Regions from separate parts of the Homo sapiens genome. Here region 1 is linked to region 2. Evidence: promoter capture Hi-C in 16 types of primary human blood cells and fetal thymus (Javierre and others, 2016). All regions are on one chromosome and are shown on one strand. The core of a region is centred on a gene start or on the middle of the fragment in contact, and the rest is flanking DNA. Distances in the headings are between cores, read along the strand shown. Region 1 holds the start of SAMD11 (sterile alpha motif domain containing 11). Region 2 holds the start of RNF223 (ring finger protein 223).

Region 1 (3,226 bases), core at 163-2,662, 150 kb before region 2:
TGGATGCAGACAGGTTGATAGGGCCAAGGGTGGCCACATAAGGAAGGGTCACCGACACTCACACCCACACTCCTACCTGGCCCCCCAGACCCCAACAGACCAACGAGCCCCCACAGAACAGGGCCAGGATAGCGGGGGAGGCTTCTGGGCATGTTCCTTGCCTGAGCAGAGCACTCCTGGCCCAGACCTCACTCCGCGGGTTGGCTGTGGGACCAGCAGAAGCCTCTGGTGAGATAAGGTGAAGGAGCCCAGCGTGGTCACCCAGGGTCAGGTTTATGCTCAAGGAAGCTGGTCTGGCAGGAGGTGGTGGTGGGCTGTTCCCTCCCTCGAAGAAGGCACCTGTGCAAACAGGCCTGTGGCCCACTCACCCCTGGACCTGCTCTGGGAGATGCCCACAGGGACATGCCAGCTGCATCTCAAGGGCAGGGGCCAGGGTCAGAACAGGAGGCCCCTTTCTAGTGGATGCAACACCGCACAGCAGCGCAGGACAAGGCTGTCTCACCTGCTGTTACCAACGCCCCCAGGTTGTGTTTCTCTTCGGAACGCTCCAGATGCAATGCCGATCTGGGCACGCAGGGAGGTGGGGGGTGATGGGAAGCTCACCAGGAACCAGGGACTGGGGCCCAGACTGACCTGTCAGAAGGCACCAAGGTGGACGTGGTGTGGCCGGTCCTGCTTCACTAGCCTTGCTCCTCCTAGTGGGAGGCCGTGCACTCTGCCAACCCGCTATCCCCCACCCTCACCCTGCCTCGGATCCACACCACCTTCCTGCTGGGAGGTGTGGGGTGACAGGAAGCTCTTGCCCCACACCATGGTCCTGGCGCGGTCCTGGTGTGAGACATCCTGCATTTGAAACAGCTGTGTGACTTCAGGAGAGTTACTTGACCTTTCTGTCTCAGCGTCTTCTGCAAAAGACTGAACAGGAACTCCGTGGCTCGGGCGAACTCACTCCTGTCAAGTGCATAGGAAGGGGCACGAGTGGGCGGGGAGGTGCTGCCCTGTTATTCACAGAACACTTTGCCCAGGCAACACACTACAAATCCACAACCTCGCTCCCTGCAGGTGCACTGAGACCACCCACGCCCTCCCGGACACCAACGCCCACCATCAGATTCGCTGCGCAAAGTCCCAGAGCCGCCGGCGCACGCTCACACCCCGGCGAGCAGCCCCCAGCTCCCTCCCTCCGAGAGGAGCCCGGTCCGCGACCAGCCCAGCCCATCCCAGTCCCGCGCGGAGTCCTGGATTCCAGCCGCTCGCAGTGACTCGGTACTCGGGATAGTGCCGGGGGCCGCAGCCCTGTCCCGCTGCCGCCGCCGGATGCCCCGAGTCGGCCGTCACGCACCCCCCGCGGGAGCCCGCGCCGCCCGCCGCGCCGGGGCCGTTTAAATGGGCCAAGTTGTGGCGGCGGCGTCGGCGGCGGAGTCTCCCAAGTCCCCGCCGGGCGGGCGCGCGCCAGTGGACGCGGGTGCACGACTGACGCGGCCCGGGCGGCGGGGCGGGGGCTTGGGACCCCCGAGAGGGGCGGGGACTCCGCGACTCCTCGCTGCCGGGCTCGGCCTGGCGGGTGGGTCGGCGAGCCGGGCGTGGGACTGCCCCGGGCGCGGGCGCTGGTGGCCGGGGCGCGGGACTCCAGACGCCCCGGGGAGCCCCGAGGCCCTGGAACTGCGGCGCTCGGCGAGTCGATCCGGGATCGATAGCAGCTCCATGTCTCCGGCCTCTGAGGCCCCGCCGGCCGGCTGGGCAGTCCGGGGAGGCCTGGCGGGCGGCGCGTAGGCGGCGGCTGCGGGCGCCGGGGCGCACTAGCGGACGGCGTGGGCGCGCGGCCAGGCGCCTCCCCGGCCCCCGCGACCCAACTCCAGCCCGGGCCGGAATAAGTTGCTGCCGCCGGCGGAGAGCGGGGCTGCGGAGCCACCGGGGCGCCATGCCGGCGGTCAAGAAGGAGTTCCCGGGCCGCGAGGACCTGGCCCTGGCTCTGGCCACGTTCCACCCGACCCTGGCCGCGCTGCCGCTGCCGCCGCTGCCAGGCTACCTGGCGCCACTGCCCGCGGCGGCCGCCCTCCCCCCGGCCGCCTCGCTGCCCGCCTCGGCCGCCGGTTACGAGGCTCTGCTGGCCCCGCCGCTCCGCCCCCCGCGCGCCTACCTCAGCCTGCACGAGGCCGCCCCGCACCTCCACCTGCCCAGGGACCCGCTGGCCCTCGAGCGCTTCTCGGCCACCGCGGCCGCGGCCCCGGATTTCCAGCCGCTGCTGGACAACGGCGAGCCGTGCATCGAGGTGGAGTGCGGCGCCAACCGCGCGCTGCTCTACGTGCGCAAACTCTGCCAGGGCAGCAAGGGCCCGTCCATCCGCCACCGCGGCGAGTGGCTCACGCCCAACGAGTTCCAGTTCGTCAGCGGCCGCGAGACGGCCAAGGACTGGAAGCGCAGCATCCGCCACAAAGGTGCCGCCGCCCCTCCCTTCGCTGCCGGGACCCGCGGGCCCCGACCCCACCCCCTACCCGACTCGGACACCCGGGAGCCTCCGGCTCGGCCGAGGGGGCGCTGCAGCTCCAGGGCTGCGCGGGGACACCCCCGCCGCGCGCGGAGGCCTCGGTGAACACGGACAGATCGCCCCCCGCTGCACCTCCCCCCAGCTTGGGCCACAGCGCTTGGGGCTCGCGGGCCGCTCCCTCCGCTCGGAAGGTCTCTGCGAGGCTCCTGGGCCTTAAGGCCCGAAGGAAGTTTACGGGGACTCGAGAGAGCGGGCAGGAGGCGGGTTGGGAGGGCGCGGAGCCCCGGGTTCGGGGGAGACTGGAGGGGCGCACGTGCGGCCGGGTGCGAGCGCGCGGCGGGGGAGGCTGCGGGGCGGCGCGGGGGCGCGCGCGGAGCCCGAGCGGCGGCGCCAGGTCACACAACCTGTTTTGGCGCCTGCGGGCGCCTGGGCCCAAGGGTGCGACGCGGGGGCGCCTGAGCCGGGACACAGGGGGTGCGGTGAGCGCCAGGCGCCGCGGGGAGTTAAAAAGTTCGGGACCTGAGCGGTGCGTGGTTCCGCGGTGGCCGCCTCTTCCTGCCGCGCAGGCCGAGGGTCCCGACGGCGCCGCTCACCGCTCCGGGACTCAGCCTTTCTGGGCCCGGCCTGCGGTTCCCTCGGGGCCGGGGAGAGGGTGGAGCGCGGGAGGAGGGGCGCCGGGTGGGGACGCCCAGGCCCTTCGTCGGGGGAGGGCGCTCCACCCGGGCTGGAGTTGCAGAG
Region 2 (3,414 bases), core at 274-2,773:
GTGAGCCTCCCACAGGGCCCCAGGCCTGCTCCGGGAATGCAGGCCGTGTGTAGGGGGGTCTCACTGACCGCTCGGCAGACACCTCCTGTTGGCCCTGCCCCACCTGGCTGGCCCTGCTGCCCGGGCAGAAATAATGGTGAGGATGACAATAGCCACAGTCGTCACTGTTTATGTCGGAGCTCTGCAAGGCTGGGCCCACATCACGGGACTCACACAACGCCACAGTGTGGAAAAGGCCGCCCAGAGCATGGGTGACTCGGCCAGGGCCACCCCAAGGGAGCTGGCGGGCCCTGGACCCTGGCAGATACGGCTCTCAGGCAGGCCAGGGACTCCAAGTCAAGTGAAGTGAGTTTGAACTCAGATCCCAGGATGGGTGCCTGGCTTGGGCGGTGCAGGCCTGATTTGTAGGCAGCTATGTGAGGGTGGGGTGTGGGGGTCTCTGGGTCTGGGGACCGGGCTGAGCCCCGGGGGCTTTGGGACGACAGGGAGGGCCCAGGCAGGGGCAGGGGTCAGTGCCCGAGGAAGGTGCACGTCAGGCACGACCTGCGGCCTGCGGGGCCGGCTTGTCTAGCTGCTGAGGGTCTGATGTGCACAGTGTGGGGGTGGGACTTGGATAAGCCCAGCCATTCCCTCTGGGCCAGCCCACTGCCTCATGGTCAGGTGATGGTCAGGGCACCCTCAGCCGCCCACTGAGTGGGTGTTTCTTCTCCCTGACCCAATCCCACTTCATGGCAGGGACCCTGGGGGACGGACACTGGGGGATGCTGCTCTGCCCCTGGGCATGGCTCAGGTGGGCATCTCAGCTGACCTGGGACCCTGCTCCACCTCCCGCCCCTCCCCTGCACCCAGGATCCGCTGCAGGGAGCCACAGGGGTCCCACCTGGAGGGAAGTGGGCAAGGGTGACAGTGAGACTCAAGGGCCTGGCCGTGCGTCCCCGTGGGGCCCAGGAGGCTGCCCCAGAAGTGACTCCTGGCACTGCCCCGCCCCACCCCTGACTTGCCAGTGAGTCCCAGACAGGCTGGCGGGATGACACAGGTCACTGTGACCACCTGAGTCACACGCCGTCACTGTGAGGCCGTGAGTGCCCCAGGCACCGGGACCTGGGGACTGTGCTCTGCGGCCTGTGTACCCCACAGAACCGGTTCCTTGGCACGAGGCCCCACCCCTCCACGATGGTGCCCCACCCTGAGCCTGTGCAGGTAAGGGGTGAACACGGGCTGAGCTGGCCTTACCTGGTGGCCGGGGGTCAGCGGGCCTGGGCGTGGTCCTCCTCGCCGGCCACGGTTGGGCTCCAAGGCCCTGGGCTGCCCTGCCGTGGCAGTGTCTGCTTCCTCTTCTCCGGGCCCGGCCCGGCCTGTGCTTCACCCAGCAGGTATCCCTCCCCGGGGCCGGCCACCAGCAGCTGTCCCGGTGGCACTGGTCTGGCAGGTGTGGCTTCTGCTCTGTCCAAGACAGGCGGGGACACAAGGAATGCGTGCGCCGTCACCCGCACAGAGCTCTGGTCTGAGGCAGGTGTGAGTTGCTGGGTGTGGGCTCCCAAGCAGGTCTATTTATACCCTATGGGCCAAGGGTGTGGCCGCAAGCCTCAGGGATTGGCTGGCTTCATCCTCTCCTTGGCGGGCCAGGCAGCTGGAGGGCAGGGAGGGAGGGGTGAGGGTCGGAGCCGGGTAGGGGTCAGCACAGCCGCTGCAGCCTGGGCAGGTCTGGGCTGGGGTGTGTGCTTGGACAAAGCCCTCTCTCCCTATAGCCCCAGGAGGCTGGAGCACCTGCTGGAAGCTGCTCACCGCAGTTCCAGGTCCCTGTGGCCCCTGAGCTCCTGGGTGGGCCTCCTAGCAGGGGCCCTCCCCGAGCCCCCCACAACCTATGCCCAGCCTGCCCCTGCCCTTTGCTCACTGCTGCCTGCCCTCACAGCCCATTCCTGCCACTTCCCTGCCCACACCCACCCATGTGCTCACCTGCCTCATCCATACACATACGTGGCTGCTCTCACACATGGGCCATGTGTTCACACGCTCTATGCCCCCGTGTCCACAGGCTCTCACACACGTGCCGTGTCCGGAAGCTCACATATGCCATGTCCACACTCACACACGCCGTGTCCACACTCACACGCCGTGTCCACACTCTCACACACATGCCATGTCCACATGCTCTCACACACGTGCCCTGTGTCCACACACACACACATGCCATGTCCACATGCCCTAGCAGACTACAGGACTGGTCTGTGCAAAGACCAGGGCTGGAGCTGGTTGAGAGTCTGGGGGCTGAGGCTGGCAGGGCTGGGATGGAGGATGTGTGGGTCTCAGAGGAGCAGCCAGTGGCATGGGCTGCCCCGTCCCCCGCACACCCCGCTGTGGGCCCGAGGGCCTGGTGTAGAGCTGCACCCCCAGGCTGTCCAGCTGCCAGCTCCCCACCTCACTGAGGCGTCTCTCTCCCAGCCCAGTGGACCTCATGCAAGGGGAGGTCCGACCCGGCTGCCACAGCCCCATCCCCGCCATGAGGCCTGGGCCGGACCTGAGCTGGGACTCCACACACCAGCCTGGGGGGGTGCCACACTGGGTGGGGCTGGGAGTGAGGGACCCACCCTAGTGGGAGAGCTGGCCGGGCCACCCCACAGACTGCCCTCAGGCAACTCCCATGCAGGTGCCCGCCGACCCCTCAGTAGGGACCCAGAGGCTCCCCCAGGGCTGCCGCGGGCATCCTGGAGCCCAAGGGATGCTGGGAAGTGGGAACCAGGACTGCAGAGGCCAGGGGGCAACACCCCGAGGAGGAGCACAGGGACTTGGGCTCAGGAAGGGCCGGACCCCTGCCAGTTCCATGAGGACTCTCAGTCGGGGGTTGGGGGGACCCCTGCCAGTTCCATGAGGACTCTCAGTCAGGGGTTGGGGGGACCCCTGCCAGTTCCATGAGGACTCTCAGTCGGGGGTTAGGGGGGTTCAGAGAGCGGATTTGGGTGCTCAGACAGGGAGGGGTGGATGCTCAGAGAGCGGGGCGCGGGCTGGGGCTGGGCTTTCAGACAGGGAGGGCTGGGGACTCAAGAGCTGGGGAGGGGTGGGAGCTCTGTGAGGGGCTCCGTGCGGGGTGGCTGAGGCTATGGGAACTCTGTGGGGGGAGGCTGAGGCTATGGGGACTCCGTGGGGGGAGGCTGAGGCTATGGGGACTCCGTGCCGGGAGGCTGAGGCTATGGGGACTCCGTGGCGGGAGGCTGAGGCTATGGGGACTCCGTGGGGGGAGGCTGAGGTTATGGGGACTCCGTGCTGGGAGGCTGAGGCTATGGGGACTCCATCGGGGGAGGCTGAGTCTATGGGGACTCCGTGGGGGGAGGCTGAGGCTATGGGGACTCCGTGCCGGGAGGCTGAGGCTATGGGGACTCCGTGGGGCAGGCTGAGGCTACGGTGACTCCGTGCAGG

Evidence for each region. Contacts are between HindIII fragments. The CHiCAGO score rates a contact against its expected background, and 5 or more counts as called.
Region 1: the fragment with the promoter of SAMD11 here is called in contact with the fragment with the promoter of RNF223 in region 2 in 2 of 17 cell types (erythroblasts and neutrophils); the score reaches 8.3 in erythroblasts.

What each region holds. Positions count from the first base shown.
Region 1 is chr1:922,511-925,736 of GRCh38, forward strand. SAMD11 (sterile alpha motif domain containing 11) reads left to right here and starts at 1,413. Exons shown (of 14, transcript NM_001385641.1): 1 at 1,413-2,438. The coding sequence starts at 1,922. It overlaps LOC107985728 (collagen alpha-1(III) chain-like), which reads right to left and starts at 3,094. Exons shown (of 5, transcript NR_168405.1): 1 at 3,008-3,094; 2 at 765-951; 3 at 503-633; 4 at 162-225. RefSeq lists enhancers at 458-1,036, 2,702-3,226. The HindIII fragment of the contact is 23,463 bases long and covers 1-3,226 here.
Region 2 is chr1:1,072,783-1,076,196 of GRCh38, forward strand. RNF223 (ring finger protein 223) reads right to left here and starts at 1,524. Exons shown (of 2, transcript NM_001205252.2): 1 at 1,234-1,524. RefSeq lists an enhancer at 1,217-1,716. The HindIII fragment of the contact is 29,142 bases long and covers 1-3,414 here.